7 separate regions of the Homo sapiens genome follow, and regions 1, 2, 3, 4, 6 and 7 are each linked to region 5. Evidence: promoter capture Hi-C in 16 types of primary human blood cells and fetal thymus (Javierre and others, 2016). All regions are on one chromosome and are shown on one strand. The core of a region is centred on a gene start or on the middle of the fragment in contact, and the rest is flanking DNA. Distances in the headings are between cores, read along the strand shown.

Region 1 (3,792 bases), core at 904-3,403, 2.7 Mb before region 5:
AGATCTACTAAATTTGAACATTATGTTCTATGATCCCTATGATGTAGTTATTCTCCAAAATTTCTACTATTCACATTTATTTATTTATTTATTTTCAGATAGAGTCTCACTGTGTCACCGAGGCTGGAGTGCAGTGGCACGATCTTGGCTCACGGAAACCTCCGCCTCCTGGGTTCAAGTGATTCTCCTGCCTCAGCCTCCCGAGTAGCTGGGACTACAGGTGTCCACCACCATACCAGCTAATTTTTGTATTTTTAGTAGAGGTAGGATTTCACCATGTTGGCCAGGCTGGTCTTGAACTCCTGACCACTCAAAGTGCTGGGATTACAGGCATAAGCCACCATGCCCAGCCTACTATTCACTAAATATAAGTGAATATTCACTAAATATAAGTGAATTCATTAAATATAAGTGTTATATTTCTTATTTAGGTCTTTAATCCTTCAAGAGTTAGCCTTTGCATATAAAGTTGAAAGTAGGGATCTAGCTTTTTTTTCCAAATAGCCAGTACTCCTACTAAATCTAAATAATCATCTTCTTTAAGCAACCTCACTACCTAGTTGTGCCACATCATATACCAAGTTGTCAAATATACATGAATCTTTCTGAGATTACTAGTTTATACCAATCTATTTGCCTTTCTTTTGCTAGCATTATGTTGTTTTTATTAGTATAATTTTACAGTAACTCTCATTTACCTTGTAGGTCTAGTGTTCCTTCCTTCCTCTTTCTGTCAAAACTGACTCAGCTAATTCTGGACCTGTATTGGTCTATGCTAACTTTAAAATGAATTTGTCAAGTTTCTAGGAAAAAAAAAATTTTGAACAGGAGACACTGATGTGCTTTAAAGAAAACAGGCATTACTAGGTTAAGCCATATATCACATAACAATCTTTTATTTTCTAATAAACTTAGATTTTTTTTTTCCCATGAAGGTTTTATGCGTTTTTAATTAAGTTAATTTTTGTTAGACTATTTTCTAAGTGGGTTTCTCATGATAAATGGCAGGGGTTAGAAATTTATGGCTCACAGGCCAAATCCAAGCTTGCCATCTACTTACAAAGAAAGCTTTATTGGAACACAGGCATTGCCATGTCTTGACATGATGTCTAAGGCTGCTTTCATACTACATCAGCAGTTATAGTTATGACAGAGACCATATGGCCCACAAAGCTGAAAACATTTAAAAAAGATTGCTGATCTCTCGGTATAGAAAAAACAACTGCTTTTTATAAATTAATCTTATATTAGACAACCTTGCTGAATTTTCTCAGTTCTAGTAGTTTGCTGTTTTGGATTTTATACAAATGACTATATCATATACGAATAGTGAACTTTATTTCTTCTTTCTTATCTTCTCCTCTTACTTAAATTGTGCTCAAAATTTCTCAATGAAATGTAACTTTTGCTATAGACTTGAGGTGCACAGGATGTATCAAGTTAGAATTTCCCTTTATTCTTAGTTTTCTGAGAATCTTTTCATACATAGGTGCAGATCTTTTTCTGTATTACAGTAAATTATTATTTGGCAATTTATGACATATTACTGCATAGTATTTCTTAGATTTTATAGGGAATGGATATTTAACTTTTCTATGCTTTAGTATATGGCATCCTTATTCAACTAGTAGATCCAGTGAAAAATAGGACTCTTAATTGTACTTTTGTCATCTCTAGTACAGCACCTGTATTCACCAATATTTATTGCATGAGTATGGTGTGTTGGGTATTACATAGGGAATTCTGTTTTCTTTCACACAAAGCCAAGTACTAAAGTTGTTGGAATAAATAAAAATGATATTGTGCTATTAGGGAATAAAAGAAAATATAAAATTAGTCATCTTTTGGGCAAAAATCAGTCATTTTAAGTAGAAAAGATTTCTCAATCTTTAGAACTCATGGGTTTTTTTTAATATTAATCCACAAACAATTTTGTAATTTCAAAAATAACTTAAAGATATAGCAAGTACATAGCAATCTAAACATTTAGGAAACAACAGTGGTTCTGCTTTGAAGACTAAAAGTAAATGTTCACAAAAAATATTCCTATCTAAACCTTCATCAGTTATGAAATCTCCATAATTCAACCCACATGCTTTTAATATTAACATCTTCTTAAAAGTTCTACTTTTATACTAAGTTCTACCCTTGTACTGCATCCAACTAAGTAGGGTAAGAATAAAAATCACCTCCATGTAATTAACATATTTAGGTGCCTTCTCATGATATTTTTAAATGGGAAAAAAAAATTTCACGTAAGATAAAAAAGGATAGAAAACCACTTATAAAAGGTACATTGTAGTTTTATTTTATTTATTTATATTTATTTATTTTTTGGAGAAAGTCGCATTCTGTTGGCCAGGCTGGAAGTACAGCAGCACGATCTCAGCTCACTGCAACCTCTGCCTCCTGGGTTCAAGTGATTCTCATGCATCAGCCTCCCGAGTAGCTGGGATTACAGGGATGCATCATCACTCCTGGCTAATTTTTGTATTTTTAGTAGAGATGGGGTTTCACCATGTTGGCCAGGCTGGTCTTAAACTCCTGACCTCTTGATCTGCCTGTCTTCGCCTCCCAAAGTGCTGGGATTACAGGGATGTGCCACTGCACCCGGAGGGCATTGTAGTTTTAAATCAAATAAAGTAGCAGATTTTTTTATTCACTTGGTTAAAATGTACTAAATTGTTATTAGTTTTTTAAAAATATCATTATTTTAAGAATTTCAAAATATATGTTCACAATCCCTTATCAGAACATGTGAAATTCCAAAGCTCCAAAAACTTAAAAATTTTTTCACAGTTCATTTGGTGGCAACCTAACCTGAACTGATATAATGCTATTTATAGTCCTTATTTATCCCACTTAGTGTGAATATTTGCTGAAAAAATATTAATGTGTTTGATTATAAAGAAGTGTCCTTTTGCAGAAACAGAAACATTACAGTAATGGAGGGACATGTACCATATTACTTCTTAGAGCTTTGAGAAGTCTGTATATTTAAACACAACTGGCCTTGTGTTTTGATAATGGAGTGTAGATCTATTAGTTCTAAAACAGATAAAAAGATTCCTAATTCTTCTTTCATTTACCCTCAAAAATACCTCATATACTCCTCTACCTCTATTTGTTCTTTTTTATTCTAAAACTTTTCATTTGAATAAATATATTACTTTCACATCAGATTCATTTTGATAAAGAAATATTTTAAGATACTTTTAAAAACCACGAAAAAGCTTCAAGAAATTAAACAAATGTTTAATGATTTGACTGTATCAGACAACGCAACTTTCTCATTTATACCATACATTTATACTATGCCTTAAGATATTTGAATTGGAGGCTTTTAAAATAGTAACATATTAATTAAGAGCAAATTTAGATAGCTTGTATACTAAGAACAAAATACTCAAATATAAACAAGGCATGAATTTCTGCAATACACATCTAGGTTCTTCTATCATTGTGGATTTGATTATCTAGCATCAAGGGCTTCAAAATCATACAATAAGCCATAAGAAGTGGGAGCACTTACTTAGGAGTAGAAGGACCCCTTGGCCATGTTCCATCTTCATTTTTCTGTTCTATCACTAATACCTGCAAATATGACACAATAAAAGGGTGTTTTTCCATAACTCTGAAGTTAAAATAACTTTAGAAGATAGCTGGATAAACTAAGAAACTAAAGTAACTCTGTGATTATTTAAAGGAAAACAGTAGACAAGGTGAACAGGTAATCTGCATTTCGATTCCAAAGCTAGGCAGGTGAGACTAAAAGACCTCAAATAACAAGAA
Region 2 (3,808 bases), core at 528-3,027, 2.7 Mb before region 5:
CTGCAACCTCCGCTTCCTAGGCTCAGGCAATCCTCCCACCTCAGCCTCCTGAGTAGCTGGGACCACAGGCGTGCCACCATGCCCAGCTAATTTTTTTGTATTTTTGTAGAGACGGGGTTTCACCATGGTGCCCAGGCTGGTCTGGAACTCCTGAGTTCAAGTGATCCTCCCTCCTCGGCCTCCCAAAGTGCTGGGTTACAGGCGTGAACCACCCTGCCAGGCCAACAATAACTATTATTAAGTCACTTGAAGATTCTATTTTTTTGATATAATGAAACAAGTATGTATTTACATCCTTAGGGATTTCTATCATACAAACATAGTATATAGCCTACCAAAAAAGAAAAAAGAGACTAAGACTTAGATCAAGGTTAAATTAAGGTCCTAAGTCTGCCACCTATTAGCTTAACTGAAAATGATCCCAATATCACAGCCTTTTGTCAGGAGTAAAGAGCAGAGATAAGAGGATAACTAAAATTTGATATCTCATAAATATGAAATTCTTAAGATATTAAAACGAATCAAGATAAAATCCTTATAATAAAATTACTGTCCATTTTACAGCATGAAGATAATGAGGTGCAATGATTTAAATTAACTCTCCTCAAAGCCATACTGCAAGTTGAGTGGTGAAACTGTGACATAACTCAGGTCTAAATCTTACTGTTCCTTTCACTATGCCATACTGAAACACTCTATGAATTATATACTACTGTTATGGTAACAGTGGAAAGTGAAAATATGTTTTATTATAATGAAGAGGCACATTATGCTTCCCAAAAAATAAGGAATTTTAAATTATGTTACATATTCACATATTTAAGTTATTGTAGATGCCACTTGATATGGTCGACAAGTGTGAAAATGTCCACATACATCCTTCAGTATTTTAAATGTATAACCTTTGGTATTTTACAAGTTTGAATATTAGCAGTTAGTTAAGCCTCAAGTGGACTTATCTACTTTTTGCAGGCCTACATTATCTTTCAAACAGAAGGGAAGGGCTGCACGTCTAACAGAAACGCTGCCGGCTTCTATCAAGCCACCACTAAAGCACAAGACCACGTGGTCTCTCATAAGCCCAAGGTTCCCTACTCCTCTCCCTCCTTTGACAAGGAACTGGAAACTAGGGTTTCTTTCTCTTATGTGGAGCCCTGACATGCCACCTGTGTAGTACAGACCGCAAACATCCTGCAGCCTGCCTCCCGGAAGACCAAGAATCAGAATAAAAGGGAACTTGGACGCCGACAATTCTAGGAAAGGAAATGAACAGAGAAGTAAAGCCGGTGAGATCGTGATAAGCCGCGGCACCGGGACCTGTCAAAACGGCGTATATAAGACTCAAACCAAACCACTATAACCTATCATTCGGGAAGGCCTGAGGTGGGAGCGGCACTACGGAAGGAAGGAGGACGAAGAGAACCGCACGAGTCAGAACCGCCGCCGCCGCCGCTCCCCGGATACCTTTCAGCATGCCCTGGCAAGCCAAGAACCCTGACCCTCATCTAGAGTCCAACCTTTGCCCCAACATTTCAGAAGCGGCCAAAATCCCGCTGCCCCGGCGGCCGCCGCCGGACCTGCCCGCACCTGTCACTAGCGAAAGAACCAGCTCGCGGCTCCCGCCCACTTCTCCACTATCCTCGGGCAACCGCGGGCATCTCAACCCCTTTCTCTTACCAGGTGTCCCCTTTCCGGAGCGAGGTTTTGAGCAGCGTCGCGATGTCAGACCGCTGGGTGTCCAGATCCGCCGCTCCGCCTTCCGCCATCTTCTTCCACTAGCGGTAGGGGAGGTGGCAGCGACGGCGGCGGCACGCCCCAGAGCATTATGGGAATGGCGTCCCACGGCCCCTCCCAGTCGGCCGGTCGAAACCAAAAGACACCGGGAGCGGGGGTGCTCCTCGGGACAAGAGGAGGCCCCGGGGGCGCACTGGGTGCGCGGCCATGGTCTGCTGCCCCCCATCGGTCCCCGCCCGTCCAGCATCTTGCCTTGGCCTCCTCTGGCCCGGGACTGCCGGGTTTTAGCTTTCCTCGCCGCCGAGGGCTCTGGCTCTCTCTCGCTAGAGGGATGCCACCGCCCTGTCCTCCCGTCCTCAGCGTTGCCTTCCCCTCCCTCTTTCCCACTGACGCCTTGAAAACCCTTATTTGCGCATTCACTCACGCTTGAGGGTGAGGTAGGGTGGGGCGGTGGTGTGGGGGCGTGGGGACGGCTAAGATATGGCAGAAAATGTAGCAGCTCAGTGACTGGGCTTTTCGTTACGAGTGGGAGAACCCAAGCTCGGTGAATATGGGCACACACAAAAAACACTCCGAAACCGAACGCTTGGTCTCCATGCCCTTCCTGGGTTCCTTCCAGCGCTCTTACTCCCGTTGTAGGTGGGGACCCTTTATAGGCTCTTTGTGACGCCTCCCCAGGCACACCCAGACGACTAAGCTGCAGTGAAAAACATGTCCCAGTTCATCGGTGAACAGGGAGTAGAATATGGACAGTATTGAATAATGCCAGATACTAAAGGAAGAAAACGTGCGAGAAACCCTCTTGTTTATACAGGATAGTAACATTTTCTTAGCCCCATCTTCGTATGGTGCCGTACACCTGAAATGAAACTAGATATGTCTTTAATTTGAAGTCAACGATTATGTTACAAAATAGAAAATCGAGTCGCTTAAAAATCAAATGCCAAGGTCACACAGCAGGTGGAGAGGTGAGTGGAGAGGCTGGTTCAAGAGCCCACATGCTATACAGTATAGCACACTCACTGCCTCTCCTTCTGAAAGCCTGAACTAAAATGTAAACTCTTTAAGAGCTGGAACTGGGTTCATCTTTTGTTTTAGCCTTTGTACACCTGGTGGTTAGCACAGTACTGATGGACATGTAAAAATTACCTAAATATTTGTTTAGTAAATGAATTGTGGCAAAATTACTTAAGTATTCCCGAGCATGATGTCCAGGGGTGTGATTTTAACATACCATATTGATGTGAAAAGTCTAAAAGATGGGCCGGAATCCCCACATCATTTCTCGTTTGCCCATTTTAAACCCTAACTCATTTGGTGAGAATGCGATAAAGGTAGGTGTAGTTATGCTAGTAGGAAGTGCTGAATCCAAGTGAAAGTAGTGTATATTGGCATTATGATTTGTGTATATCAGTATTATGATTATGATTGCTTATTTCTGCGTAATAATACTATTTTGCATTATCATGCCAACCTTGAATTGAGAGTTTTAAAACAACTTTCAGTGACTGCTATTTCTGGCTTTTCTCCTGACAGGTTAAAAGATTAAGAGTTTCTCTAACCACGGCTACCCTCTAAAAGTCACATTTTCCCCCTTTTTCCAGTCACTCTCTGAAAGAGAACAAAGTAATTTTCTGAAGGGAAGCTGCAGAATATGGAAAACATATATTGGAGCTACATGGATGTAAGTTCAAACCTCACTTCAACCTTTAGCTGCAAAGTTCTTGCCCTTTAATTGAATCATAAAATTGAGTATAATAATACCTACCTTAAGGGATTTTTATGAAGATTAAATGAAACAATTTGTGTTTATTGCCTGGGACGTAATAGCCATTCAATAAACACTAGTATTGTTTATTGATGACAGGGTGAATTGTACAGTATGTGAATTATACCTCAATAAAGCTATTGAAAAAAGGTGTTAGGGGCTTTGAAGGCAAAACTGTGCTCTCCTTCATTGTATAAACATAACATAACCAAGTAGCAATAAATCATTTATACCCTAATGTCCACTTTCCCTTAAGAGAAAATGCATTTTTGAAGTGTTGACAGCTACAACCATACAATGAAGTAA
Region 3 (3,425 bases), core at 49-2,548, 2.7 Mb before region 5:
AACGAGTCAAAAACATTTAAAACATTTTTAAGGTTTATAACGTAAAAATGTTACAGTAAGCTAAAGTTAATTTTATTATTGAAGAAAATATTTTTAAATTAACTTAGTGTAGCCTAAGTGTATGGTGTTTATAAAGATTACAGCAGTGTACATTAATGCACTAGGCCAAGCTTGTCCAACCTGAGGCCCACAGGTGGCCCAGGACACCTTTGAATGCAGCCCAATACAAATTCGTAAACTTTCTTAAAACATTATGAGATTTTTTTGTGATTTTTTTTTTCGCTTATCATCTATTTTTAGCGTTAGTGTATTTTACATGTGGTCCAAGACAATAATTCTTCTTCTGATTTGGCCCAGGGAAGCCAAAAGATGGGACAACCCTGCCCTAGGCCTTCACATTCACTCTCTACTAACTCACTGACTCACCCAGAGCAACGTCCAGCCCTGCAAACTCCATTCATGGTAAGTGTTCTAAATAAGTGTACCATTTAAAAAAATCTTTTATATGCCATTTTTACTGTTCTTTTTCTATATTTAGAAACACAAATACTTAACATTATATTAAAACTGCCTACACTATTCAGTATGGTAACATGCTGTACAGGTTTGCATGCTTCCCTAATACCATCCCCTTCCTTCTCTTGCTGAAGCACTGTCAGTGACATGTTTTAAAGAAGATAATAAAAACAGTAGCACAGCTTTACATGTGTTGAATGGTTAGGAAATATATAAATACCATAATAAACATGACATTTTATCTTAAAAAAGATTGTCTGCTTGTGGAAGTGGAATTCAGAAGAGTTGCAGCTTGTGAGTTATTATCAAGTGGTGCAAGGAGGGTTATCCAAAATCTGCCAGAAAGTTTTAACAGCAAGAGTAAACGTCTTTTGTTTAACACAGAAGTTATGTATAGATACATCTTCACATATATGCACACAGAATGAAGTACAGTCAAATAGACTAAGAATAATATTGAGGCTAGCAAAAGTGATAGTGTTCAGTGACAGTCAACAATGGAAATTTTATGCATAAAAATAAGAAAACTAATTACAAACACATTTAAAAATTGGGACAAAATATACACAGCAAAATGCATAAAAGGCACAGTTTTTATTCATTACTTTTTATTTCTGAAAAAATTCATAACTTTATATGATCTTTTGTATTTATTTTTTATAGTTGTACTTTTTCTAAACAGGTGAATTTGCATTAGATTTTAATTAAAAATTTACGTAAGTCTTGAAGAATTTTCTTCAAGACTTGGAAAAGCACAATTCATTTGCAATCATTTCTAAATTTATCAAAATGTGATTCTGATATACGGTAGTGTATTCATTCCTGAGAAAATACTTCCTTTTGGTAACTAGAGCAACCAGTGAATAAGCCAGAAAAATAATGAGTGTTATCTCATATATGATTTTATATGAGTGATATCTCATATAAAAGGAAAAGCACATAAAGGACAGATTATTACCCTTTATATCTTGGAAGATAATATAAGCAAAACAAACAATTCCAAAACTGACATATTTACTGATTTGAAGCTGATCAAATTTTGGTACCAAATATTATACTAACTACAGACCTGCAACCATCTAAAATTCATCTAAATACTAATGTACAAACCATCTTGAGCAGCCCAGAGTAGTAATTAAATTGTTTTGTGATGAACAGGCTAAATTTCTTATACAAAGGAGTCAATGCTTTATAAATGAAACCAAAGGTGAAGTATTTCTGAATACTAAGACATTTGACTGTGTTCCTGTAAAGAAGTTATGAAGTAAATGTACCAATGTATAATCTAAAAGATCTATGGCTTAATCACTATAATCTTCCTGTTTCAGAGGATTACAAGGAATTTTATGAGGGTGCCTCATACCTGGTCATTACACACGATTCTTACATACATCAATCTGAAATTATTTTTATCATAATGTTAATATTATCTGGGTTCATAGTTACTAAAGAAAATGATATAGAGACTGAAGACCTATGGTTTTCAATCTCTCAAGTCCTTCAAAGATGACCTGTAATCTTCCACCATGTCCATAGCATACCCTTCTATATCCTCAATAATTATTTCAAACCTTTGGCAGTCTTACCTAGTCTCTAACCCATTAGGTTGAACAACCTTGCTACCTACCTTACAAAGCAGTCAGAAGCCTGTCCAACTCTACTGCATCACACCTGAATCTTACCTGATTCCCTTACGTATCAGTAGAGGAAGTAATCTTCCTCAAATCCCAGGCCAATAATTTTTGCTCCTATGCTGTGGATCTAATTTCCTTCTGCTTCCTTGGAGACCTTTTCCTACCAGCATTTCAACAGGGATTAAGTCTTTTCCTCCTCTCCCCTCATATCACCTCTCAACTCTCGTATTTTCTCATCTATTCTCATTTTATGACTTGTCCTTACAGTCAAGCTTCTCAAGTTTCCATTTCCTCAACTTTCACTTACAGGTCTTCCTAGTCTAATGGGCCCTCACAAATCACCAATGACCACCTTAACAAATCCAACGGATTCATAATTTTATATATCTATTAATCCCTCTAAAAATTAGCCTCTGTAATTCTTTTTTTTTTTTGGGTGGGGGGGTGATACTCCTCCCAATTTTTTTTACAACCTTCTCTTTTGCTTAAATGTATTACATAGCCCTGCTCTTTGATTTCTTCTTTCACTGTTTATATTCTCCTATAATTCATATCAATAATTCCAAAATCTGCATCTCAGAGCTAGTCCTCAAGTTCTTGAATCGTATTTCCAATTCCTATTAGTCCATGTCAACTTGGATTTTCCAGACATCTCAACCTTGAGTCAATCCTCTCTCTCTCCATTTACCCATTCTCTACTATTACTTTAACAAGTGACTTCATCAGTAATTTAATTTCCCAAGCCACAAACCAGAATATTAACCTATATTCCCCGCTCCATAACATCCATTAACCAAGCACCTCCAGAATATTTCTAAGAGTCTGCCCCTCGCCTCTTCATCCTCAGAAAAGTACTTTAGTTCTGCAGCTCCCCTTCCACACTATTTTTAGTGGCATAGATTACTATGATAGCTGCTTGATTTGTCCAACTACTTTAAGTTTTGCTTGCTTCCAAGCTGTCCTCCACTCTGCTGCCAAACATTTTAAAACCACAAACGTGATCATCTCACTTCTGTTTAAAATCTTAGTATCTGCATAATATAAATGTTTAATGTTTATATAAGGTTTTCGTACAAAGTGTTTTTATATTAGTTGATGGTAGAGCAACCTTTTTCTTCCCTCCCTTCCCTCCTTCCTTTGAGACAGGGTAGAGCAACCTTTTATTTATCTTCATTTATTTATCTGTTTGTTTGTTTGAGGTGGTCTTACTCTTGCACAGGCTGGAATGCAGTGTTGTGATCATAGCTCACTGTAACCTCAAACACCTGAGCTCAA
Region 4 (3,449 bases), core at 880-3,379, 2.9 Mb before region 5:
GAACAATAACAAAAACAAGAAAGTTGTAAAGGCATGTGCAGCATGATATAATGGAAAATGGGAGAGGAGTTAGAGATGGACTCACATGGACTCACATACCATTTCCACCATTTCCACCATTTTCCAGCTTTACTACCTTATGCAAATTACTAAACCTGTCTATACCAGTTTCCTCATCTGTAAAATGAAATATTTAATATGGCATGTTGCATTAGAGTCTAAGGATGCAAAGTTCCAAGCCTAGTGGGAAGGCAACATTTTATTCAACCTTGAGTTAACTTCATGAGACTAAAGGCAATTTCTCAATTATTTCTGTGTTCCTGCTGTGCTTTTTTAGGAGACTCATAAATTTCTGTTAAATTATAACAGTAACAGCAAAACCTTCTACTTCATACATGGTTGAAAATGTTCAGCTATGCTTACATAAAGGAAAAAAGAAAAATAAATCAAATTTTGAAATATGTCTTCCTTTTTGGCTTATAAGTTAGAGAATATGTCTTTTATTTTTTCTGTCACCAAAGCACAGGTAATCATTTATTTCAGTTTATAGCTTTCAATATATAAAGCATGAATATATTATATTACGCTTATGGGAGAAAGAACACAATGTCAAGAGGAAGAAACCACATTATAAAATACTAAACCAAAACAGATCCCAAGTAAGCTCGTAAAGATTATCCAGCCCTCATCTTCAATGTCATAAGGTCGTGCAAATGAGGTGTTAACCCAACCAGGAGAGCCAATGACATTAGTCACAGTCCCTAAATATCTGATTAAATGGCAAATCCTGTCACAGTAAGTAGAAGGCATCTCTTTCACTAGGGGTCTCCCTAAGCCAGTTAACAAAGCAAAACACCTGGATACTGAGGAACTCTATCACAAGAAACCTTTGCTTTTCTCTGCCAGCCAATTTCTATTAGGCCTGAATGGGTAACAGGAAACTTAAACTACATAGCCTAGGAAGACTACTTGCACTTTTAAATTATTTATACCCTTACTGATTCTGCATCATTTAAAAAGAGAGAAAAGGAATCTATCCAATTCCCTAATTCTGACCACCTAAACTCAAATGAACTTCTTTCCCTTTACTCTTCTACCACCCATTCCCTGGACTTCATCATCCTCTAGTGCTGGGCAATCTGAAATGCAATATTCCCACCATTGTCCCAACTCCTATCCTTCTAGCTCTCTCACTCCCCAACCCCACTGCTCTTTGATGAAATAGGTGCTGCTAGCCTTTAACCTTCCCATCATCATCCAGTCAATCCAAACTATTGGCTTTCCTTCTTTGGGAATCCAACCTAGCTCTCACAATCCACCATTATTTCAACCACTCTTCCTGCTAAGACTCTTAAGTGTTCCAAGACAATTTCTCCTCCACTTCTCCAAAGTGATCCACTGCTCTCCTCAAACTTGCCACCCCCTACTTCTTTTATCACTTAATTATTCCTACTAACAAGCTTGTTTCTTATCTTCGCAAGAAAGCAGAGGCCACAGACCAAACTGCCCACAACTTGTCGCTCCCTTCTGTCAAATTTGTCACATTCAAACCCGGTTTTTCCTTTGTCCTTCCTCTGTCAGAAGGTAATGTGTCCTTTCTCAGATTGAAATCCTGTTCATATACTTATGCCACTGAAACTTCAGTTTTCTCAAGGACCTTCCTCTAACGAGTTTTACCTTTCTCTCCTGTATCTTTAACCTCAGTCTGCCCAGCAGCCTTTTTCTTTAATGTTGTTTCCCACAGTTCCTTTTCCAGTCCTGATATTCTCACTCTATACACACACTCTTCCTGGCCCATTTCATCCAATTCTATGGTTTCAAATATTATTTATAAACTGATACTCCTAAATTTGAAATTCCAGACTTCCCTCTTAAGTGCCAAACCATCATTTTCAAACACCTACTGGTCAGTTCCACTTGGATGTCACACATAAATCTTAATATAATGACTACTCTGCTGGGTGTGGTGGCTCACGCCTGCTATCTCAGTACTTTGGGAGGCCGAGGCGGGCAGATCACCTTAGGTCAGGAGTTCGAGACTAGGCTGGCCAACATGGTGAAACCCCGTCTCTATTAAAAATACAAAAAATTAGCCAGGTGTGGTGGCACGCGCCTGTGATCCCAGGTACTCAGGAGGCTGAGGCGGGAAAATCACTTGAACCTGGGAGGCGGAGGTTGCAGTGAGCCGAGATTGTGCCACTGTACTCCAGCCTGGCAACAGAGACTCCGTCTCAAACAATATACACACATGACTACTCATTTTCCCCCAAAACATTTCCTCCTCTTTTATTTCTTCTCTTAGTGATCCACCTAGTTTCCCAAGCCAGAAACCTGGGAGGCATCACACATTTCTCTCTCTCCATTATATAAAAGATTACCATGCCTTGGTAATTTTTACCTTTTCAATCTATACGCTCTTTCACTACTGTCTAACTCAATGCAAGCAACCTTCTGTCTATGTCCACTACTGCTTCAAAACAGAGAATCATCATTTTTTAAACTTTGCTCTCTTTGCTTCAGTCTCAATACCCTCTAATTCTTCCTACCAACTGTCAAGGCAATGTTACTAAATATCAATTTGATCATATTACTCTCTTTCAAAAAGCTCTAATGGCTCCAATCATCTTCAGTATAAAATTTATTTTACATGGAATACTAACAACGTGTGCTATTTCCTCTGCTAGGAATGACTCCCCTCCTCCAACTTCCAGGCTCAGTTAGATACCCCTCATCTGTACCTGCAAATAGGAAATAATAAGAAAGTTTTTATTCATGAAATACATAAACATAAAGCTTCAGAGTTGTCTTCCTCTAAAGGCCACTGAATATTAATCACATAGAAGTGATCATGGAAGGCTTCAAAGTAATTTTTAAAACAAAGGAAAAAATTTCATACAATATTCCCAAATTAGCTAGTACAGTTGTACTAAAAAAAGTTATACTGCTAAAACATGAAGATTTATGTATAACAACTAAGAAAAATAGAAAAAAAGAGAAAGAGGTTATTATAAAATGACAGAATAAAGCCATAGCCACTACAACAACAATTTAATATACAAAGGATAGAGTTATAAATGAAAACAGTAAGGTAGGAAAAACCATGTAGAAGTCCAAAGACAGTAAGTAAATATCAGTAAATAAAGCACTATTCTTTATCAATACTCTTTTATTGGTTTTTCTAACAGATTTGAAATCTTTAAATCCAGCTTATTATTAATTTTAAAAAAGAATTACATGGGCAGCCTGGGATACGCCTATAATCCTAGCACTTTGGGAGTAGGAGGTGGACAGATTGCCTAATCGCAGGAGTTGGAGACAAGCCTCGGCAACATGGTGAGACCCTGTCTCTACAAAAAAAATACAAAAATCAGCTGCGTGTGGTGGCATGCACCTGTAGTCCCAGCTACTCAGGGGGTTGAGGTGGGAGAATCACTTGAACCCAGGATGTC
Region 5 (3,463 bases), core at 535-3,034:
GTTTGTAAGTTGTTACACAATACACTGAGTTTCTTACGGTTGTAATCTTTCCTTTCCACTGAGATCATTCAGTCCCTCACTTGGATTGCTTTAAATGTAATCTGCTCAGTCAGAAGTAGAACCTGGAGTTAGGATTGCTTCACCAGAGCTAAATATTAGTCACTTTGCTCAACCCTCATTTGCCCTCTGCTGTCCCCACCCAACTCTCATTTTTCAGCCACACTCCACCAAATGCATACTTAGTGCTTGTGGTTCCAGTAACACAACACATTCAAGCTAACCTGTCTGTGGAAAGTTTGCAACCCTCTGAGTTCAGACTGGGGTTAGCCATGAAGCATGGGGTGACAGGAAATGGCATCCAGTAGTCACTCTTTCCTCTGGGTCCAGTCTTTTTCCCATCACTTTCATCATTGTCCGCTATTTTATTCCTCTGCCGCATCTCCTTTGGGACCCAAGAGGGAAGGAGGACACGAAATAATACAGGAAAGGAAATCAAAAAACAATTGTAGAGAAACCACTCCTCGTTTCCTCTTCTATGTCTCGTGTGTGTGTGTGTGTGTGTGTGTGTGTGTGTGTGTGTGTGTGTGTGTAAAATTTTAATTTCCCTGGAATTGGAACTACAGAAGTCCCTCCTCAGCCCTACCGGGAAAGTGGCACTGGGCACGACCGCCCTTTCCAAGGCAGTCTGCAATCCTTTTCGCGGAAGTAGAGGAGAAAAGGGGGTGGAGAAGGGCGCCGCGATGCAGCATCCGCTGAGAAAACAGGCAGTTCGCACGTGAGCGGGCTCGCAGCCTGTGGCGCCACCTGACCGGGCCTGGCGCCCCCAATGTGGTGCAGTGGCCCAGCAAGACCAGAAGGCTCAGGCCCTCCTGAACCCTTGCCAAGTCAGAGGTCCCTTTCTGCCTGGGCTCAGGCCTCGCCCGCATATAGTTTTCCATCTGCTTCCACCCCTGCCATCCTTCCTGGGGACCAAAAATGAAGAAAGACAACCCCCCCATCCCCCGGTATTTCGTCTTCCCCTCACAGCCTCTTCCTGTCCTGATCATCTGCTCAAAGAGAAGACGTTCTCTCCACACACTCCACCCCCGCCTCCACCTTCTGCGGCAATGAAGCCACGCCACCCTAGGGGGCTCGGGGGCCGGATGCTGGCGGGGCGCGCACTAGAGACACGCCGCACTGGAAGCAGCCCTCGGAGTCCCGTGAGCCAGGGAGACTGGGGTGCACCGCGCCACGCTGAGTCTCGGTGTAAAAGCCGAGAGCGTGAGCACCTCCTGGCCGAAAGCACGCGAGGCGCTCCTTGCCCAGGACCCCGCGCGCCCCCTCAGTTCCCGGGCAGCTGTCGGCGCGCACTGGCTGACGCGAGCTCTGCTCCCGCGGCCGCTTCGGGATTTTTTTGTCTATATAAGGGCTCGCTGGCCAACTCTGCGTTGGCACGTTTGTCACAGGCTGGCCATTATTTGCACACACGCGTGCGGCTCCGCGGGCAGCTCGGGTCGCAGACGCAGGCTCGCCCTCCTCTTAGCCGGCACCTCCTCCTCCTCCTCCTCCTCTCCCCTCCCTCCCCAGCTGTACTTACTTTATCTGGTCTCTGGCGCAGGGTGGGCGCTGCAGCCCTCCGTTCCCAGCAAACCGCAGCCGATTCGCCTCGCTGTCAACGGGTGAATGGAATTATTTATTTATTTATGGCCCCTGACGTGTCCTCGCCCGCCACAGCCAGCGGAGAAGGAGGCGGTGGCGGGAAGGGGAGGCGCGGCTGCTGAACGCCCTTGTGGGTGCGGAGGAGCGCGCGCCAGGGGTGGGGGCCGGACAGGCTGCGGTGGAGGCCGGCCCGGGGGGTGGTGGGGGGGAGCCGCCTCCCGGTGCCTGGAGACCGACTGAGCATGCTCCAAGCGGCTGTCAAAGCTATAGGCACTTTCTCTATCGCTCGGGGCACTCCACTTCGGATTTTAGTTTTGACCAAGGAAGAAAGCCAAAAGGCAGGTAGATCTGTCTTTCCAGATGGGTCGTAACTTGCTGTATCCGAAGTACTCTGTAGCCTGACCTAGAAGACAGATGTGCGGTAGCTCTGTGCAACCCAAGCATGGGAGAGGAAAGCATGCAAAAAAAGAAGAGTCTGGCCGAATGCAGGGAGAATAGGAGATCCTCATTGTGAGCTTGCAGGGAAAGTGTTGAGCCATTTTTCAACTGAGGCCTTTTTGGGAGAAAGAGGTAGGGCACTGTTGGAGATTAGACTCACCAACCAAATCACTTCACGGAAAAAAATATAATTGACACCATAGGAGGAAGGACATAGAAAACAGCACCAAAAAACATTAAAAATAAGAAGGATTTTTTTTCAAATCATTTATAATTCCTTTCATTTTTAATTTCTCAAATTACTTAGTTCTTCAAACCAGCATTTAGTTATTTGACAACGAATAGTGCTAGAGATAATGGTAATTCTGCTGTCATTGGTTTGGTCTCTTCCCCTGTCTAAAATGTGCTTCTTGGTAAAACTGGAAAGAGGAAGGGCTGGAAGAGAACATTTAAGTAACCCCATAGATTGGGTTTCTTTAATATCTTTAAGTTAAATTGCCACTTTAGAGAAAAAGAAACTATCCAAAAGAATAATTGTAGGTTTTGGCTTGACAAGTCCTATTGCAGTTTGTCTACCAGTTTAGCTAGCTTTCTCCTCCTTGATTTCACAATCATTTTAAGGTGTGTTCTATGATTCTTCACATTTTACGAATTTATAAAAAGAGTTAAGTCATTTGGGTAAATTCACATTGTCTTTGCCACAGCTAGTCTGTTGTAATGGACGAAATTTGAATTTCAATTTCTGTAGCTATGAAATAAAAGTAATATCAATCGTGTTGATTTCATAAGATTTAAGTGAAATAATATACATGAAGTGGCTGGTAGGCATAATACAAGATGAAAAAATAATCGTGATTAATAACATCAAAATTACTGGAAGATAATTTTATTGAAAGAATGATATTTGAAAATGAAAAAAAGGCAGAAAATTACAGAAAGGATTTTATATTTTTAAGCTAAAAATGCTTAAATAGACATTTGTATAAGACATAATAGGCCTTTGATAATGATGAAATGTCTAGCAGTGACTATAAACACTTCATTTAATTAAAAAAAGTTAAACATTTAAAAGAAACAACATAAAGGCACATTTCAAGGTCATAGTCTTGAGTGTTTGCTATTGATATTTTTCCTGCTCATTCATCACTTTTATTTCCTGTCAAAGAAGAGGAAGAAGAAAGACCATATGCTTTCTGAATTTTGATCCTATTCTCCCTTTTCCTTCTCTTTGATTTTTCTTTTTTGTTGTTTTTTTCTTATAGTCCCATGTTCTTGACCTGTTTAACCTATTGCTGAATGCCAAACATCACTACTTATAGCATGATATCGTAACCTTCTTTTTAAGTCTTGTTTTTTCAACAATTAAAACTCTGGATCTAATTTACCT
Region 6 (3,377 bases), core at 770-3,269, 2.6 Mb before region 5:
GTCATATTCAGTGGCAGGTCAGTATTAATCATTCTTTCTTTCATGTTTGAATGTAGAGTTTAAAATATTAAAAGTCTGGCTAGCTATAATATTTCCAAATGTAGGTAACATACAAATCTTCAAGGGTTTATTCAAGCCTACAATCTGTAAGTCCCTATGTCAGAAAACAACTCTGCAATGAAAGCCACCTTAGATCTCCATGCCTGATAATTAGGAAGCCAATTAAGTATTATTTACTGGCTAAAATATTACACAACAATGGAAACAAGAAATTATAGTGCAACGAATAAATGCAATAGTACTTATAAATTCAGACTGCCTGAGTCAGCCATCATTTGCCTGGTAAGTCCACTCAGGTTGAGGTCAAGCTAAAAACTTCTTGAATCTGAGAATTACATTTACCTCTCCTGGAGAAATGCTTGGCTGCTATAATGGTCATGCTTTTCTTTGATTAGCAGCCAAGAAAAATTAGTTTTATGGCATCAAAAGAAAAATAGGGATAGTTACAGTCCAAATAACAATTGCTAGTATTTCCTATCTTTGCTGCTTGCTTAACTACCCTTGATTCTGGGTCTGCAACTCTCCTCATGTGCTGCAAAGGGAGTGTCTGAGCCTAGAAATGAGTTCTACTGTTCTGTGTTTGGTGCTGGTTGGTACCAAAACCGAAATCAGACATACTTCCTCAAGGAGTTTATATAACATGTTGCAAAAGTAGACAGAATAAGCCTTTAAAACAGTGGTCCCCAACCTTTTTTGGCACCAGGGACTGGTTTCCTGGAGGACAATTTTTCCACAAACTTGGGTGGGAGAATAGTTTTGGGATGAAACTATTTCACTTCAAATCATCAGGCATTAGATTCTCATAAGGGGCATGCAACTTAGATCCCTCCCATGCACCGTTCACAATATGGTTCATGCTACTATGAGAATCTAATGCCGCCGCTAATCTGACAGAAGGTGGACCTCAGCTTCTCTCACTTGCCCACTGCTCACTTCCTGCTCTGCAGTCTGGTTCCTAACAGACCATGGACTGCTACCGGTCCGTGGCCTGGGGGTTGGGAACCCCTGCTTTATTGGATGTATTCTATAATGGATGCTATTTTTCTGGTCAACCATTGTAGATGCCAAAATTTGAATAAAATAATTGAATGGAATCTATTCATTCAACTAGTTGTCATGATTCCCAAGGGCTTTATCTTGGGACTTAGTGATAATATTAATAAAAATAATACTAGCAAAAATAATACATTATAATAATTTAAAAGCATATGTGAGCATTACAATTATAAACCATACAACAAACTACATTAAGTTTACTATACAGTAAATTAATTATTGTTAGTTTTTTTTTTTTCCCTGAGACAGAGTCTTGCTCTGTCACCCAGGCTGGAGTGCCATAGCGCTATCTCGGCTCACTGCAATCTCTGCCTCCTGGGTTTAAGAGATTCTCCTGCCTCAGCCTCCAGAGTAGCTGGGATTACAGGTGCACACCATCACGCCCAGCTAATTTTTGTATTTTTAATAGAGACAGGGTTTCATCATGTTGGCCAGGCTGATCTTGAACTCCTGACCTCAGGTGATCCGCCCACATCGGCCTCCCAGAGTGCTGGGATTACAGATGTGAGCCACGGAGCCTGGCCCAGTTTTGTTTTTATTATTATCATTATATAACATATTTAGTATATATTTATGTACGATAAATATATATAATTATGCAACATATATATTTGTTATATAATATATATAACTAGAAACATTTTTTATACTCTTTCTCTGTCCTTCTTGGAGAGTAGATCTTTAGTAATGTTGAGAGAAGCATTGGCTGACTATTCTAGTTATCTTTTCTGCGTAACAACCCACTTGAAAGTTAGTGGCTTAAAACAACAACAATCATTTATTTAACTCATGAAACTTCAATTTGAAAAGGGCTCAGTGGGGACAGCTCACTTCTGCTTCATGCAGCATCAGATGGGGTGGTGTATAACTCAATGGTGGGAGATTGGAATCATTTGAAGACTCACTCGGTCACATATCTGATGGTTAATACTGGCTGTTGCATAGGACCTCAGTTGGGGTTCTTGGTCAGATGGATCACTTACACATGGCCTCTACAAGCAGCTGTTTTTCTTTTTTCACAACATGGTGGCTAGGTTAAAAGAGGGAGCATCCCAAGAAAACAAGGTAGAAGTGCATATCATTTCTGTGATCTGTTCTTGGGAGTCATTTAGCATCACTCCTACCCTGCTCTTTTGATTGAACTAGTCACAATTGTCCACCAAAACTAAAAAGAGGAGCTATTAATTGATGAGAGGAGTATCACTGTCATTCTGTAATGAGATTTGTATTATAATGTTTTGTGTAAAAGTCTAAAGATGAGGATCAGTGCTTATAATTCAGGGGCCATTAGCATACTAATGGTAGTTAAAATACAGAGATAAGGTGGAATTACTTAGGAAGAATACATCAAGAAAAAGATGTGAACCAAGAATGAACAGCACTTAAGAGGTGGGCTTGTGGTATGAGATTTATTGTGGTGGTCACCTTTAGAAAATATAATCAGCCCATTGCAGATAGAAATGGAATAAACCTAAAGAAAGAGCTAAATTTATCTTCACTATAGATTGAACAGTCAGGGAGAAAACTCTGGAGGTAGAAATAACTGAAATTGGCACAGAGGGAAAAAAGGGAGTGAAAGGCTGGCTTCTGTGGAAAGAGAAATTCTGTGAAAAGATCTAAAGTCTTCAAAGGGAATTTGGAAAAAGTTTTGTTCTTCTGTTTCATAAAAACGTGCATATTTATAAATCGTCTTGGAATCAGACATTTGTTTTCTGGAATTGCAAAGATGGATTATAATTGGCTTAGAGGAAGCTGCAGTGGCAGAGCAAGAGTGGTCCAAGGATAATCAGTCACATTTAGGATATATATAAATATACAGAAAACATACCTACGTATCCATATACTGTATACTGTAGTTCTGCTGATAACTTGTAAATACAAGTCATTATAGATTAGGTTTAGTTCAACAAATATTTAGTAAGTACTTAGAATATTTCAGACAATGCTAGTTATCAGGGCTAAAAAGATAAATAAAGTATAATTTCTGCTCTAAATCTTGTGGGATGGTCAGATTTATAAATTGAAGGTTTCAATTAAAATTACTGAGTATTAAGGGTTTGGATTGTGGAATCAAAATGTCTAACTCTGGGCAAGTTACTTATCTCTCCAAGCCTCAGATTTGTCATTTGTAAAATAGGAACATAATAGTTCCTAACTCAGAGAGCTGTTGGGAGGATTAAATGAGATAATGTAGGTAAAATATTTAGCACAGTGCCTGGCACATGGAAAGTGCTCACAAAAACAAATGGTTATTGTTGAGT
Region 7 (3,771 bases), core at 147-2,646, 2.8 Mb before region 5:
CAGAAACTACTGGGTGGGAAAATCTCCAACTTCCTGTTCTACTAACTTCTTTGAATCCACATAGGTACTTTTCTGTCTCTTGCAACACATGGAAAGAAAGATGTCTCTCTTCTTATTCAAAGCTAACCTTAGCGTCTATGTTCTAAATCCCATGCTCTTCTGCTTTCTCTGGGACCTAAACCAAGCAATTATTCTTTCTTCCATTTTATCTCAACTCTTGCATAAGCATTGGAATATAAAGTCTCTCAAAAAACAAGGGTACCTCATTGCTTTCCCTCTAATTATCTCCCCTTCTCCTCTATTTTATAAATAACTTTATTAATGATATCTATATTATCATAACTTCCTTATCTCCCATTTACTTCTCAACCCTCTTGCTGGCTTGTCTTCGCCTCTTTATTTAACTTGTTTCCAAGGTTGCCAATAATGTTGTACAACTTATCAGTCTTTATTTTATTGACCTCTTTGTAATATGACTGCTGACCACTTTCTCCTTAAAAAATTCCCTTTCCTTATAACACGACTACTTTTAATTCTTTTCTATTGCTGTGATCATATTCCTCTTTTGAAGTTCTCCTACATTGTTCTTTAGAGTGTTGTCTTTAGCCTTCTTCTCAATTTTATATGCTCTCCTTGGAAGAGGCAACAGTGTCTCCTGATTTGCTTTGGCCAGTCCTGGATTAGCCTGCTATCCTAGTATAATTATTAATGACAGTCCCTTCTATTTTCAAGAGTTCTTGTTTAGATGATAAATCACGGGGTCACCTTAGCCTTAAGTAATCTCATCCTTCTAAAACACTATCATTTTCATAGAGCTGATTGTCCAATTTATAGCTAAAGCAGTCTCTCTCCTTTGGTCTAGATACACAAATTCAATGCCTACTGGATATCTCTACCTAAGTGTTCCTCATGCATCTGTAAGTCAGCATATCCAATACTAAACACAGGTTTGGGTCATGTTAGGCCACCACGTTCAATACTAAAATGGATTCCTTCTTCAACTTGTTCTTCCTATATATTCCACTAAAACAGCACTGCTGTCTCCTCTTTTCCTGTCAAGTAAACTTGGCATCATCTTTGAATATACTTACACATTTTCACTTCCTACATTCAACTGGTTCTTCAAACTGCCATCCTGACAGAGTTGAAGTGTTTGTCATTTGTCTGTCGTCTGATCATTAAAAGCTTCTTACCTGGTCTTAGTACTAAGCCTTTTCTAACTGATCTCTGTGCTACCCAGAATCATCTTTCTGAAACATAATTGTGGCCATATAATATCTATACTTAATAGTCTTTAATGGCTTCCCTAGTTTTTAGGATGAAGTTCAAACTTCCTATACTGGCATCAAAGTTCTTCGTGATCTAGCTCCTGCTTGCCATATTAACTACTGTAGATTACAGAAGTGGGCCATGTCCTCTTCTCCCATAAGTTCTTTGTACATGCCATTATCTTGGCCTATAATGCTTTTATTTCTAGTTTTCACCTGCTTATAACCTAATTGTCCTTCAGAATTTATCACAGGCCTCATAACCAGTTTGGGTAGGTTACTCTGTGTTCTCTTGCAGCACCCTGTCAGAGCAATTTTCACACTGTATGACAAGCTTCTTGAAGAACAAGGACTAGAAACACCATTATATTTCTAGCACCTTGCACAGCATAAGAGCCTAAGATATAATATATATTCAATATTTTTCCTAATAAGCTTCCATGACCTAAATCAACTTCAATGACGGGAAAACTCAACAAATAGGGAAACTCAGCTAATTTCACTTTTCTTACAAGCTGGTCAAAGCATAGTGTTAATGAAATGAGGTGATCATTTTGTATTTGAGTTGTTACTGCCTCTAAATGGAAAAAAGGAAAAAAAAAAAACACAAAACACAAAAACAAACGAATTTCTCTGTGCTAACCATGGCTCTAACCTCCGCAAATTTATATTATTGGTCACCAAATGAGAAAAGTGATAAGTCAATGAAATTCACATTGCTGGAAAAATAATTTAGAGCCCAATTTATGGAAGAGCACTTATCATATACCTTATGGACTAATGTGTAAATTAATGCAATTTGCCACTATTGATATAGATTACCTTATATTATTGGCATGGGAGAATATTATCTCTAACAAATGTGCTGTAGAGAAATAAAACATCTACATTTATTTTTTGTTGCAGTAAATTTATACTTATTATTCTACGCTCTCTTGCTCCATTACACTCATTGGTGTATATCTGCAAAGTTATAAACTAGAGAGGTAAGGATGTGGTTTGGCACTGTTATAGTTTCTCACCATTGAAAAGAATGTTGACAATCTTGTACTTATAAACGAGTGAATAAGTGAATATCTAAAGGATATAACTTTAAAAATGTGAACACATATTCCCCAGGCCAAAAGTAAAAGCAGGTCTTTATTGGCTCTGCTCACAGATAAGGGATAGTACTTAGCACTCTCCAGTGAAATACTGATATGAGGGCATTGTGTTCAATGAGTTCATAAAGAAAACATAAAGCAGCAGAAAAACAAATTGCTTAAATTTGCATAACTGAGTACATACCTAGTATCTACTAGACTTTAATTACTTTGAATAAAAGGACTGTGTGTTTATGAACACTACATATACCCTGTCTTTGTTGACAATAAACCCAAATACATCCCTGAATGGTAAGATCATAATTTTGTTCAAATATAGCTTTCATATAGACATCGTGACTATTATGCACTAACAAACTGAGCTATTTGGCTAAAAATTTACAGAAAACAATCTTCTAAAGCAGGAATCATATCTTTTTTGTTTAGCCAAAGAGCTTTATACTTAGTAGGTGCATAGTTAAGTATCTTGATGAATAAAATTTTTGAATACTTCTTGTGCATTAATATTTACCAGCCACAAAAGCTGGAAATACAAAGGTTTACAAGGTCTCTGTCTTCAAAGACTTGTAGTCTAGGGATAAAAGATAAAAGTAAGCCAAAAGTTATAACAAAATTAGTTAAGTGTTAGAATTTAGGGAAAGAGAGGTAGAAAAAGAAGAAGTTACTTTCACTGGGATGGGTCAAGTGTCAGAAGAGGATTAACTGATTAATAAATAAGGGAGAAAAGATAGTGCTTTACCCACAAAATATAAATAATCCAATTATAACACTAGGTAACGGAATCAGGCAGACAATTTGACAGTAAGACTTACCACAGGACTTTTGCACAGAATAAACAATATGTGATACTTCAAAGTATTAGAAATTAGAGAACATCACTGAACAAAATATTTTTAGTCTAACTGAATTTCTACTTTCTTTTAAGTTCCTAAAATGCCTAAAAATTACAGGTATTTAAATACACTACTATCACACTATGAATTAAAAGTATTAGCTTTACTTCCAATAGCCACTAGTAAAAAAAAATTACAATTAACACTAAAGAAAGTTGAAGTTTAAAAAAATTAAAAATATTATGTTGATCTTCATAAGCTAATATTCACCCCAATATTATAAAAATAAACCTCTATAAAAAGCCTTTTGAGAATTTTTTATAAGACACACGTTGCTCTTTCAAGACTGTAAAAAGTTACACTGATTTCCAAAGTATTCAGCTTATAAAATCTCTTATACAAATAAACATTATTGATTGGGCTTGATAATTCAATACTTAATTTTTATAATAAGGACTCAACACTAATTTTTTAATAAAAATAACAAATGCAAAAAAAAAAAAAAAAAAACAAAACAAACCAACCCATGATTTACCTGCATAGGTTTGGTAAGTGGATCCATTCTAA

What was found. Contacts are between HindIII fragments. The CHiCAGO score rates a contact against its expected background, and 5 or more counts as called.
Region 1: a contact is called between a fragment that was not itself captured here and the fragment with the promoter of SLC16A7 in region 5, in 2 of 17 cell types (naive CD8 T cells and non-activated CD4 T cells). The highest score is 7.2, in naive CD8 T cells.
Region 2: the fragment with the promoter of USP15 here is called in contact with the fragment with the promoter of SLC16A7 in region 5 in 5 of 17 cell types (total CD8 T cells, total CD4 T cells, activated CD4 T cells and 2 more); the score reaches 9.6 in total CD8 T cells.
Region 3: a fragment that was not itself captured here is called in contact with the fragment with the promoter of SLC16A7 in region 5 in 1 of 17 cell types (total CD4 T cells); the score reaches 8.6 in total CD4 T cells.
Region 4: a fragment that was not itself captured here is called in contact with the fragment with the promoter of SLC16A7 in region 5 in 4 of 17 cell types (naive CD8 T cells, naive B cells, total CD8 T cells and 1 more); the score reaches 7.1 in naive CD8 T cells.
Region 6: a contact is called between a fragment that was not itself captured here and the fragment with the promoter of SLC16A7 in region 5, in 4 of 17 cell types (non-activated CD4 T cells, total CD4 T cells, total CD8 T cells and 1 more). The highest score is 18.7, in non-activated CD4 T cells.
Region 7: a fragment that was not itself captured here is called in contact with the fragment with the promoter of SLC16A7 in region 5 in 1 of 17 cell types (activated CD4 T cells); the score reaches 8.2 in activated CD4 T cells.

What each region holds. Positions count from the first base shown.
Region 1 is chr12:62,325,674-62,329,465 of GRCh38, reverse strand. It overlaps USP15 (ubiquitin specific peptidase 15), which reads right to left. Exons shown (of 22, transcript NM_001252078.2): 6 at 3,533-3,594. Among named protein-coding and RNA genes, the nearest start is that of USP15, 67 kb to the right of the region's middle. The HindIII fragment of the contact is 2,165 bases long and covers 1,071-3,235 here.
Region 2 is chr12:62,258,373-62,262,180 of GRCh38, reverse strand. It overlaps USP15 (ubiquitin specific peptidase 15), which reads right to left and starts at 1,777. Exons shown (of 22, transcript NM_001252078.2): 1 at 1,678-1,777. The coding sequence starts at 1,766. It overlaps MIR6125 (microRNA 6125), which reads right to left and starts at 1,822; the gene lies at 1,727-1,822. It also overlaps a transcript of TAFA2 not described here. RefSeq lists enhancers at 1-47, 48-548, 1,272-1,321, 1,542-1,901, 2,452-2,521 and silencers at 1,942-2,051, 2,132-2,191. The HindIII fragment of the contact is 15,091 bases long and covers 1-3,808 here.
Region 3 is chr12:62,274,562-62,277,986 of GRCh38, reverse strand. The region is part of intron 1 of USP15 (ubiquitin specific peptidase 15); the gene reads right to left. Among named protein-coding and RNA genes, the nearest start is that of USP15, 16 kb to the right of the region's middle. The HindIII fragment of the contact is 2,252 bases long and covers 173-2,424 here.
Region 4 is chr12:62,469,990-62,473,438 of GRCh38, reverse strand. All of the region lies in intron 1 of MON2 (MON2 regulator of endosome-to-Golgi trafficking), which reads right to left. Among named protein-coding and RNA genes, the nearest start is that of MON2, 4.9 kb to the right of the region's middle. The HindIII fragment of the contact is 1,333 bases long and covers 1,463-2,795 here.
Region 5 is chr12:59,594,350-59,597,812 of GRCh38, reverse strand. It overlaps SLC16A7 (solute carrier family 16 member 7), which reads right to left and starts at 1,784. Exons shown (of 6, transcript NM_001270623.2): 1 at 1,577-1,784. RefSeq lists enhancers at 976-1,125, 1,176-1,315 and a silencer at 1,786-1,855. The HindIII fragment of the contact is 11,642 bases long and covers 1-3,463 here.
Region 6 is chr12:62,238,400-62,241,776 of GRCh38, reverse strand. It overlaps a transcript of TAFA2 not described here. Among named protein-coding and RNA genes, the nearest start is that of MIR6125, 20 kb to the left of the region's middle. The HindIII fragment of the contact is 6,086 bases long and covers 1-3,377 here.
Region 7 is chr12:62,384,271-62,388,041 of GRCh38, reverse strand. It overlaps USP15 (ubiquitin specific peptidase 15), which reads right to left. Exons shown (of 22, transcript NM_001252078.2): 11 at 3,740-3,771. Among named protein-coding and RNA genes, the nearest start is that of MON2, 81 kb to the left of the region's middle. The HindIII fragment of the contact is 417 bases long and covers 1,188-1,604 here.